Regions from separate parts of the Homo sapiens genome. Here region 1 is linked to region 2. Evidence: promoter capture Hi-C in human tissues and cell types (Jung and others, 2019). All regions are on one chromosome and are shown on one strand. The core of a region is centred on a gene start or on the middle of the fragment in contact, and the rest is flanking DNA. Distances in the headings are between cores, read along the strand shown.

The links. The method cuts DNA at HindIII sites, captures the fragments that hold promoters and counts their contacts. A contact is called where the count stands out against the background at its distance.
Region 1: a fragment that was not itself captured here is called in contact with the fragment with the promoter of ACIN1 in region 2 in 1 of the 25 tissues and cell types used here (hippocampus).

Annotation. Positions count from the first base shown.
Region 1 is chr14:24,055,142-24,061,113 of GRCh38, forward strand. It overlaps CARMIL3 (capping protein regulator and myosin 1 linker 3), which reads left to right. Exons shown (of 40, transcript NM_138360.4): 8 at 96-169; 9 at 402-477; 10 at 560-648; 11 at 1,158-1,252; 12 at 1,481-1,567; 13 at 1,774-1,883; 14 at 2,026-2,103; 15 at 2,662-2,738; 16 at 2,819-2,923; 17 at 3,014-3,083; 18 at 3,539-3,620; 19 at 3,749-3,845; 20 at 3,994-4,048; 21 at 4,129-4,301; 5 more. Among named protein-coding and RNA genes, the nearest start is that of CARMIL3, 6.1 kb to the left of the region's middle. The HindIII fragment of the contact is 4,302 bases long and covers 2,109-5,972 here.
Region 2 is chr14:23,092,653-23,098,219 of GRCh38, forward strand. It overlaps ACIN1 (apoptotic chromatin condensation inducer 1), which reads right to left and starts at 2,484. Exons shown (of 19, transcript NM_001386863.1): 1 at 2,323-2,484; 2 at 827-892. The coding sequence starts at 2,460. It overlaps C14orf119 (chromosome 14 open reading frame 119), which reads left to right and starts at 2,853. Exons shown (of 2, transcript NM_017924.4): 1 at 2,853-2,967; 2 at 5,006-5,567. The coding sequence starts at 5,007. The coding sequence ends at 5,429. RefSeq lists enhancers at 2,225-2,534, 2,240-2,763, 2,575-2,654, 2,675-2,884, 2,764-3,287. The HindIII fragment of the contact is 4,223 bases long and covers 1,233-5,455 here.

The DNA.
Region 1 (5,972 bases), core at 3,010-5,509, 960 kb after region 2:
TTGGGCAGGGACCCCATAGGGAACAGGTGGGACCTGGAGGGAAGGGGCTAAGAAGGAAGTGGGGAGCAGGTGTGAGCCAGTTCCACCTCTCCAAGGATGTGGACACCATCTACCATGCTGAAGATAACCGGGAGTTCAATCTTTTGGATTTCAGCCACTTGGAGAGCCGGTAAGCAGATGGGGCAGAGACTCCACCCTCAAATTCCCAAATTCAGCCCAACCCCAGCCCTTCCCAGGAGTGCCCTTCTGGTCCCACAGCCCCAGCTCTATCTCCCCAACTCCATCCCATCCCCATCTACCCATTTAGGCCTTCCCCAGCCCAACCACCCTATCCTTGGTCTCTTCTTTTCTGACCCAACCACCTGCTCACCACTTTCCTGCCCCCTTCCATATCCCCACAGAGACTTGGCCCTAATGGTAGCAGCCCTGGCCTACAACCAGTGGTTCACCAAACTCTACTGCAAGGACTTGCGGCTGGTAGGAACTGGGAGGGGCTGGTGAGGTGGGAGAAGTAGTGCCCCCCTTGGCCCCTGATCACAAGACCCCCCTCTGTCCTCAGGGCTCTGAAGTGCTAGAACAGGTGCTACATACCCTAAGCAAGTCGGGGAGCCTCGAAGAGCTGGTGCTGGACAACGCCGGGCTTAAGACGTGAGGCCAGTCTCCTCCTTGGGCAGTAGTGCACCCTTGATGTAGTTTTAGGGTCCCAGAACCTCAGAGCATGATGCAGGCCTCTGGACTATCTTATCCAGTGCCTCTCTCTACAGAAGAGGAGACCAAGGCCAAAAGAGGGCACAAAGCAAGTCGGAGGTCAAGCTAGAACTCAGACCCAAGCCTCCTGACGCCCAGCTCCATGGCCTTTCCCCAGGATGTTCCATGCCCCGTCCTCTTTTTCCATTAACTACCAAGCAGGGTGGGCTGCTCCAGTCTTGAGGACCCAAAGCTGACCTTTGTCTCAGCACAACTTCCTAAGGTGTGGAATGCCCCCAGGTACTCCGGAGTGGTGACAAGCTCCCTGGCAGGCCCTGAGCTGTTCCCCTGTTGTGGGGGCCTCTGACCATGCAGCCCCAGCCAGGCAGTCAGGTAGAGGAGGAGGGGAAGCCCAGAGGCTGGGACCTGGGGCTCAGCTCAGGACAAATCCTTCCTCCCCTTCCCTGAAGGGACTTTGTCCAGAAGCTGGCCGGGGTGTTTGGGGAGAACGGGAGCTGTGTGCTGCATGCCCTCACTCTGTCCCACAACCCCATCGAGGACAAGGGTGAGCCCCAGCCCTGAATCCTGTCCCCATCCCAATGCAGACCCCTGTCCTAGCCCAGAGCCCAACCAGGTCTGAACAGCAGCTCTCCAGCCTGATTCCAGCCCCTGCCCTGACACCTCCATCCTTGACCCAAGGCCTGTACCCTACTCGAGCCCCCAACCTGACTCTGTGCCACCTGCACCCACTGCCCTGCCCCTCACTGGGCCCGTTTCTCTCTCCACTCCCCAGGTTTTCTCAGTCTGAGCCAGCAGCTCCTCTGCTTCCCCTCTGGCCTCACCAAACTGTGCCTGGCCAAGACTGCCATTTCCCCTCGAGGTACTCGCACCAAGGACCCCTGACCTCTGACCCTACCCTGGTGCTGCCTGGGGTGTTGAGCTCCAGAGGTACACCCACACATTCACACACCACCTCAGGGATGGAAGAGTGAAAAGGAGCCACGTTTGGGGAGAGGGGAAGAGTTATGTGCTGAGGGGAAGAGGTGGGGCTAGGGGCCAACCCAGCCCAGTGCCCGCTGTGCTCAGGGCTCCAGGCACTCGGCCAGACCTTCGGGGCAAACCCAGCATTTGCCAGCTCCCTTCGATACCTGGACCTGAGCAAGAATCCTGGGCTCCTCGCCACGGATGAGGCCAATGTGAGTCCTCAGAACAGCCTCAGCCCCCTGCAGAAAGCATGCTTAAGCTTCAGGAGCTGGGAGGCCTTCTGCCCCATGGCCTCTGGGGGTGGCGAGACTCCATCATCCCTTCCCCTGCAACCCCTCTTCCTTCCTACTCCAGGCCCTCTACAGTTTCCTGGCCCAACCCAACGCCCTGGTGCACCTGGACCTGTCAGGAACTGACTGCGTCATCGACTTGGTGAGGAGTTGGTGATGGGAAGCCAGTCTGAGGTGATTTGGGGAAGACCACAGTGGGCCTCGGTCTCACCCCCTATCCCTGAGTACACAGGCGGGCAGAGCTGTCTAGATGACTTCAGGTTCAGCTGAAGTATAAAGCAATGTCCATAGTTCATACCTGTGTGGCACTTTATCCAGGTCACAAGCTTGTGCTTGCTGTGCTTAAAAGCCAGCCCTTGCTCCCTTCCCCAGCTGTGCACCCTGGCTCCACCAGGGGAATGGATGCTTTTCCTAACTTGAACAAGGCACCTTAGGAGTCAGTGGTGGCCCTGGCTTTACACATCCACTGCCTGTGAGCAGCTTCATGCCCCTGGAAGCCAGGCAGGGAGTAGACCCATGTTCCACAGGGGAGAAAACAGAGACTTCAAGAATCTGAGTGGGCATCTCCAGTGGAGCTCACACAGGCTGACCACAGAGAATGAAGAGCCAGGAACCTCGATGGGGAGGGAGGGGGAGTCCTTTCCTGCCACCCCCTACCCCCTTCCAGCTCCCCTGAGACCCACCATATCTCCCCCCACAGCTTCTCGGTGCCCTGCTCCACGGCTGCTGCTCCCACCTCACCTACCTCAACCTGGCTCGCAACAGCTGCTCCCACAGGTGGGAGAGGAGGGGGAAGGGAGGACAGGGCAAGACATGGCCAACCCCCTCCCTCGCTGACCCCAGGGGTCTCTCCACAGGAAGGGTCGAGAGGCCCCGCCGGCCTTCAAGCAGTTCTTCAGCAGCGCCTACACACTGAGCCACGTCAATCTGTCGGCCACAAAGCTGCCCCTGGAGGCCCTCAGGTCGGGTGGGTGCAGGGTTGGGGGCGCATCCAAGGGAACCACGGGGAGCGGGAAGAGGTAAAGGAGGGCCTGCTGACCTCCCTCCCACAGGGCGCTGCTTCAGGGCCTCTCCCTCAACAGTCACCTCAGTGACCTGCACCTGGATCTCAGCAGCTGCGAGGTGAGCCCTCAGTCCCCAACCCCTCTGCCCGCCTCCGATCCATGTGCATTTCTCAGACCTAAGTCAAACCCTGGCTCCATCTAGCCTCTGTGCTGACCCTCTGCGACCCCCTGACCTGGCCACACCACCACTTTCCCCTCTCAGTCTGGCCTCTTTTCCAGAGGCCATTCATTCTCAGTCTCTAGTATCTCTGCCCTTAAAGCTTTGGGGTGGGAGATACCAGACTTTTCCACCAGAGGGCAGGAGCAAGCTGTCTTAGGAATAGCAGCCTTCCTGGCCGAAGGGAGGGAAGCCAGCTCTAGGGAAGGATCTGGTGTGGGGAAAGAGTCTCCCTGATTTTACACCCAGATCCTGGCATGACTTTGAGTTCTGGTGTGACTACTATATCCTAAGCATTAAAGGTGCCCTACCCCCACCCCAACCCCTGCCTTCCCTACCTCACCTTGTCCCTGCAGCTCCGTTCAGCGGGAGCCCAAGCCTTGCAGGAGCAGCTGGGAGCTGTCACCTGTGTAGGCAGCCTGGATCTGTCAGACAATGGTGAGTAGTGGTTCCTCCCTTCCCTGGGGCCAGGGGAGAACAGGGGCCTGGAGCATGCAGAAGCAGCCCTGATGGGACACCAGTCAGCCTCAGGCCTCCAGGCCAGGCCTCTCCCATCTGCTCACCAGGGTTCGACTCGGACCTCCTGACACTGGTGCCTGCACTTGGCAAGAACAAGTCCCTCAAGCACCTGTTTTTGGGCAAGAACTTCAATGTCAAGGCCAAGTGAGGCCCCCTTTCCATGCCCACAGACCCTCATCCCATCATTCACCCATCCTCTTGGCTCACCGTATTACCTCTGGCCACCTCTCTCCTCCTCCAATAGCATGACCCCAGCCCTTCCCCTCCTACTCTGAGCCCCGCCTCCCTGCAGGACCCTGGAGGAGATCCTCCACAAGCTGGTGCAGCTGATCCAGGAAGAGGACTGTGTGAGTGCCTGGGCCTGGGAGGGGACCTGCAGTCGGAGGAGGCTGTGGGGACTGGGTCCAACCGCCCCTTGCCCACACAGTCCCTGCAGTCACTGTCGGTGGCAGACTCCCGGCTGAAGCTTCGCACCAGCATCCTCATCAATGCCCTGGGCAGCAACACCTGCCTGGCCAAGGTGGATCTGAGCGGCAATGGCATGGAGGACATCGGGGCCAAGATGCTGTCTAAGGCCCTGCAGATAAACTCCTCCCTCAGGTGGGGCCCACACCGGGACCCCCTGACCTGGAGCCCCAGCCCCTCCCCATATGTACATAATCTCCCTGCTTTCCTTGATGCTCTGGACCCCAGCTTCCAGAAGACCCCCAGCCCCAGAACCATCTCTGAGTCAGCCTTATTGCCCCAAGAGGTTTGTGTCCCTGGCCCCTAGTAGGGACCCAGGAGGAGAGGTGCCAAACTGGTGCTTACCCTCCCCCCAGAACTATCCTATGGGATCGGAACAATACATCTGCCCTGGGCTTCCTGGACATCGCAAGGGCCCTGGAGAGGTGAGTAGACCATGGTCCTGCCCTGATCCAAGTCCCCAGCCTCCCTGTGCCTGGATCAGGCCTGAACTACTCTTGCCCCACCCTAGCCCCTTTGACCTATTTGCACAGAAATTTTAGGAAGGGCCATGGAAGACAGAAATGATGAGCAAGGGGGCTGGAGGGCTGCTCACCAACAGAGGAGGCAGGGGCCTCCCATCCTCACCTGTTCCCACCCAGCTGTGCCCCTGTGTCCCACAGCAACCACACGCTGCGCTTCATGTCCTTCCCCGTGAGCGACATCTCCCAAGCCTATCGCAGCGCGCCTGAGCGCACCGAGGACGTCTGGCAGAAGGTGCAGGGTGCTGTCCTAAGCAGGGTGGCACAGCAAGGGGCAGGGGGCAGCCCCCATCCCCAGGCCCTGACCCACCAACCCCATCATCTCCAGATCCAATGGTGCTTAGTGAGGAACAACCACTCCCAGACGTGCCCCCAGGAGCAGGCCTTCAGGTTGCAGCAGGGCCTGGTGACCAGCAGCGCCGAGCAAGTAAACGTTTCCCTCTGGGACACGGGGCATACCCGGGGCATGCAGGGCACAGTGTGATGTGATGGAAAATTGAGTGGGGGAGCATGAAGAGGCACTGCATGGTGCCTATCACTGGACTGAGCATGTGGGGAAGCAAAAAGAGAGGACATGCAGGATATGGGCTTCAAACATATGTGGGCGAACAGCAGGAGTGCACAGGACTCTGGGAGCTCAGCTGGGCATTCAAGAAGGCTGTAGCAATGGGGACCAGGCCAGCCAGAGACATCACCTCCACCACTGTCGGTGCCAGCACCAGTAGCACTGTCTAAGGGGTCCTACCTGCGAAGATGTGGAAGCAGGGGTCCCCTTGACACCCCTGCCACTGTGCTCCAGATGCTGCAGCGGCTGTGTGGACGAGTGCAGGAGGAGGTGCGGGCCCTGAGACTATGCCCCCTGGAGCCTGTGCAGGATGAGCTACTCTACGCTCGGGACCTCATCAAAGATGCCAAGAACTCCCGGGCGGTGAGCCCTCCACAGGCTACCCTTCCCCTGAAGTCTGGAGAACCCAAGAAGGCCGACCATGCTAAGCCATGACAGCCCTGCCCTGTGCATCTGCCTTCCTAGCCCAGGGACCCCAGAGACCTAGCAAGTCCTGGTTCTGGCCTGCTAATCATAACCCCTTCCTTCTCCAGCTGTTTCCCAGCCTCTATGAGCTGGGCCACGTGCTGGCCAATGATGGGCCTGTGCGGCAGAGGCTGGAATCAGTAGCAAGTGAGGTGTCCAAAGCTGTGGACAAGGAGCTGCAGGCAAGTCCTGGAGGAGGGAGGAATCCATGGTGGGAACCTAGTGTTGACTGAGGCCCTAAGCCCAGAGCTAAAG
Region 2 (5,567 bases), core at 1,234-3,733:
ACATTATAATGAGGGGATTTTTAAAAGCTGAAAGAAACTTTAAGAGACTGTGCAGCCTAATAATTTTTGGATTTTAACTGTGGAATAATTTAAAAATTTTATGCAGAAACTCAATAGTTAAAAAGTAGATCTAATCTAGTTTAAGAGAGGAGTATGAGCCTTGCTTACTTGGGAAAAAGGTATTTCCCCTAGGAAGCTCCCCAAAGCAGCTCCACAAAACCCTAAGAGAACAGTTATAAACCCATGGGTTTAGTCTGTTTCTCATATTACAGATAAGGAAATGGAGAAGACCAAGGCCTCCAAAGGTTGTTTCTTATCCTAAGTAAAGAGGTATTAGTAATGTTTATGAGTAAGTGCACTGAGTTAGTAGTTAACACTAGTAATGGTGGGTGACTTACACAGGATTGAACCCTTGGAAAATCTACATCAACAAGAGTTCTTAATCAGCAACTATTTCCCTACACTGCCATATTGGTGATCTACTTCATATCTATACTCAAAGACATCAACTACCTTTCCTAAATTCATGGCAGATAAATGACTTCAGATCTCTGTACTACACGTAATTAATGGAAGCCACACCTTTCTACACATGCCATTTCAATTATTATAAACTAACAGTGCCTCTGATTCTGTTCTTTACTCCAGGCCCTTGTATACAACTGGGTTGATTAGAATTCAACTGTCCTGGTTTGAGAACATTTCTGACTAAGAGAACTTAGGAAAACAGTCATGAGGACTTAAGCATCAAATATACAACACCACGTCCTTCCATGTGTCTGGATATCCAAAGGGCCCACTCCATTGAATACACCTTCTTTCTCACCTGGGAATTTGGCTGGAATGCAGCATGGGGTGTTGAGTGTTTCTGTAAATTTTCTAGCATTAGAGCCTGGTATAGAGAAGGGTAAAAGTCAGAAATGATGAGGAAAAAAAAGAAAAACAAACCCCCACCTCTACCACAACCTCTAAATTAAACGCAATGACTTAAATACACACAATTAAACTGTATTCCTTTTCCAGGGACCTGAAAACCCTTTACTAACACTGTTCTCATTCATCTTCAGAAGACCCATAAAGGTAGCCATGGTTACTGTTACTAAATGTACAGATATAAAATGCAGGCACACAGAATCAGTGACCTGGCTATGTCATAATATCAGTAATAGAACCAGTACTAAAATCCCTATTATCTTCTGCACTTTCGCCAAGTGCCCCTTCTAAATCTGATCATGCATGTAAAATTACTTAAAATACTCAAACCAGCCATGGGGCTCCTGGTTTTTGCCTGACGGAATTACTTGGTCAAAGGGTTACCCAGTACCAGGGTCAATTTGTATAATTTCCAGTACTGTGGCACCTAGATTTATCAAATTTATAAAATTTTCAAAGAGGAAGCTACAGAAGAAAATGACCACAGACCCTGTAAACTGTGGTCTAACCTAGTCTATCCACACAAACACACACACACAAACACACACACACAAAACTATCAGCTTCTGTATAAGCAACGGTCTGCCAACTCAACCCTGGAGCCAACCCAGACCTAATCTGCACTACCTGCCACGTATCCTGTTGAACTCTAATTAAAACCAAGACATCCTCATCTTCCCTTCTTTAAACCAAACCTATACACTTGAATCGAGCTACACCTACCTCATGACAATCCCACCTTAATCTACTCAAACCGATTCAAAATCCCCAATATATATCAACCTGCCTCGCCTCTCTCACCAATATTCACCAAACTCTTAACCACCCAAATTGCCACTAGATGCCACTAAATTAGAGACCTCTCTCTCATCAAGTCCCTTCAAATAAAGGTCTCTCTTCATCTCACCTCCTCATCTAATCGAGCAGACATTTTACCCTACCCCAGTCCTATTCGTGCAGATACCGATACCAACCCCATCCACCCCTTCGCGCAACTATACCCCTAACTCCGACCCAGCCCAACTCGCCCCCCTCAGGCCAGCAACGCCGTAGGTTGTAGTGGGATTTAACTCCTTCTGCAGCGCATGCGCCGAAACCACAGATACAAACAAGGAGGGGGTGGGGGAAGGAGGAAGGAGCTTAAGACACTCCTGGAGAGTAGTGCACACCCTCCCATTTGGGCTCGCGCTGCTGCCGTTAAGGCGGGAACCGGCGCGATCTCCATTCCAGCGCGAACCTCATCAACCACCGTGCGCGCGGATCCAGAGGCTCGCGCTGGCGGCCTGAGCGAGCTCGCGCCGAGCCCGGATACTGCGCCTGCGCCGCGGCAGAGGCTCGTCTCTACCGGGTCCGCTCTCCTCCGACACCCCAGCAACGCCGACTCCTCACCCCTTTGAGCCGCTTGACCAGGGCACTCTTCTGCCCGCTCTTGGCTAGGCCTCGCTGCTCCAGTGCGGCCTTCAGGTCGGTCACCCGCAGCGCCTGAAGAGGCTTCCCGTCCAGAGTCACCTCCTCCAGCTCCGCCATCTTGCGTGAGGTACTCGGGTCCGTCCCGACGGCTTCGGGCATCTTCGGTAATTTCCGCCAACGCCCTTCGAACGTACCGAGATGACCCCGCCCACTGCCATACTCTACCCCTCGATTACCACTCAGAACTCCCCGGGTTCCTCCGGATGTCCTCGGATGTTTCCGTCTCCACATCGTTACCAATCAATTCTTTCCATCCGCCCTGCAGCGCCCCTTTTCTCGCCCTGCTTTCAGGCTCGGTTTTCTTCGTCTTGCCGAAGCTTTGAATCGAATATATTCGGAAACCCTCGACCCTGGTATAACCATAATCGGAGATGTTCGTTTATTTCCGGACCTAGAGATGAGGCGCTGGGGCGCTTGGGTGTTTGGGGCGGGTCCGAGGCCGGAAGTGCGTGGGCTGCCGGGCTGGCCCAGCTTAGGGTTTTCAGGAAATTTGGAAGCTGCCGCAGTAGTTGGAGTCTAAGGACTCGTGACAATCTTCGGGTGCCCTTCGAGAGAAAAGGGGAGGTAAGCGGGGTAGAAGTACCTCTATGGGCCGGGTCAGACTCGGTGTTTGCGGATTACCTTAATAGGGCAAGCCCCCCACTCCTTAACGCAAACAGCTTCTGCCCTCTGTCCTCTGAATCATAGCCACTCCCATCTTAGGCTTTTTTTGGGGAGGGGCGGGGGGCTGGTGCGGAATCGGAATAACAAGCTCCGTGGGGGTGCGCAAGAAGCATCGCCGTGTCTTCGGACCCAGACTATGAACTGATCTATGACGCTGAACTTGAGTTTGAGTTTGCCTTGGAAGCCATGTGGCAAGATTCTGGGAAAGTTCTTCCTTGCTCCGCAGAAGAGAGTAAGTTCCCTTGGAGGAACTGCTTCCTGTAGGGCAAGAACTGGAAAATGCAAGCGCCCTGAACTTTTTTGGTACTTGAACTAATATTAATTGTTTAGGGGCTTCTTTCTTTGTCACTACCAATCCTCCAACTTGATGCAGAAGAAACACAAACAGTAAAATAGGTCACAGACAAATAGTTTAGAGATTTAAGAGATACGTTAGAGATTTAAGAGACTGAAAACTATTAAAGTCAAATTGGCTGATCTTTCCGTTGCATTCATGATGCAAAATCAGTGGCAAGGTGCCGGGCGCGGTGGCTTACGCCTATAATCCCAGCACTTTGGGAGGCCGAGGCGGGCGGATCACTTGAGGTCAGGAGTTGGAGACCAGTCTGGCCAATATGGTGAAACCCCGTCTCTACTAAAAATACAAACAAATTAGCCGGGCGTGGTGGCGTACGCCTATAGTCCCAGCTACTCGGGAGGCTGAGGCAGGAGAATCGCTTGAACCCAGGAAGCAGTGGTTGAGATCACGCCATTGCACTACAGCCTGGGTGACAGAGCAAGACTCCGTCTCAAAAAAAAAAAAAAAAAAAAAAAAAATTGCAAGGCACCAATAGATACCATACTAAAAAAAAAAAAAAATTTTTTTTTTGTCACTCCACTCTGGGTCCCTCCACTCTGACGCAGGCTGGAGTGCAGTGGCGCGATCAGGGCTCACTGCAGCCTCAACCTCCCGGGCTCAGGTGATGCTCCTACCTCAGTCTCCTACGTAGCTAGGACTACAGGTAGGCACCTCTACGCTCAACTAATTTTTTTATTTTTTGTAGGGATGAGGTTTTGCCATGTTGCCCAGGCTGGTCTCGAACACCTGGGCTCAAGCGATCCTCTTGCCTCGGCCTCTCAAAGTGCTGAGATTACTTTGGAAGTGCAAGAACCACCGCGTCTGGCCCATACTAAATATTAAGGACAATTGTTTAAAGACATGGATTGTCATAAAATAGTATAACACTTGTTAGATCTCTAAGCCAACAAACCAACTGGACTCTTTTTTAAGAACGTCTCAAACACCCGGGCTTCTGGTTCTTTCATGCGTTACCTTATTTTGAGCAAGGTCCTTACTCTGCTTTTTAACTTTTCCTGGTGCTTTACAGGAAATGTAAGGAGGTAACGGATGTTATGGAGTTGTTGGCATATTTCAGAGGCTTATATGCACATTGAAGGCTCTTTCATCATAAATAATGTTTTTTCTTTCTTCCCCCACTGTTGATAGCTGCAAAACAATTAGCATCAGCCTTGACCAGCTGCACGTACTAGATTTTAAAATGTGTGCATTTTCATTTTGGAGAAGATGTAATGGACCAACATTAATCATTGTTTTTTTCTTTACCCAACCTGGCACATAGAAGTAAGAGGAAGAGAATGAACAAGAAATATATTGGTTATTTTTAGGTTCTTTATAAGAAAGATGGAGGAAGACAGTGGGTGGGGAAGAATGGGTTTGAAAAAGGCAGGCAAATAGGAAATGAAGTTATTTTTGGTGATTTTTCTAAGGTAGTTGGATAATAATCTAAATAAAGGACTCTTATTATTTTGGGTCTTTGAATTCATAAAAAGTAATTTTCTCTGTAGATGCTAATTGAGTGTGGTAAGATGTCTTGTTGCTTGAAAGTTGTATTTTCGTTGCTCTACCTGGAGAGCATATAACAGTGCTTTTATGTTTCAGGATGCCACTGGAGTCATCCTCTTCAATGCCACTATCCTTCCCATCTCTCTTACCCTCAGTACCACACAATACTAACCCTTCCCCTCCTCTGATGTCTTACATCACCTCCCAGGAGATGAAGTGTATTCTTCACTGGTTTGCCAATTGGTCAGGTCCCCAGCGTGAACGTTTCCTAGAGGACCTGGTAGCTAAGGCAGTGCCAGAAAAATTACAACCACTGCTGGATAGTCTGGAGCAGCTTAGTGTGTCTGGGGCAGACCGACCACCTTCTATCTTTGAGTGCCAGCTACATCTTTGGGATCAGTGGTTTCGAGGCTGGGCTGAGCAGGAGCGCAATGAATTTGTCAGACAGCTGGAGTTCAGTGAGCCAGACTTCGTGGCAAAGTTTTACCAAGCAGTGGCTGCTACAGCTGGTAAGGACTGATAGGCATTCAGACCAAAGAAGATAACCATAGCTGATGGAGCCATGACTCTCTACAATGATAACTCAATTCAAATGTGTCGCCTAAAGCTCTGGAACTGGTATTCCAACCAGCTGACCGAACTCACTGACCAGTACAGG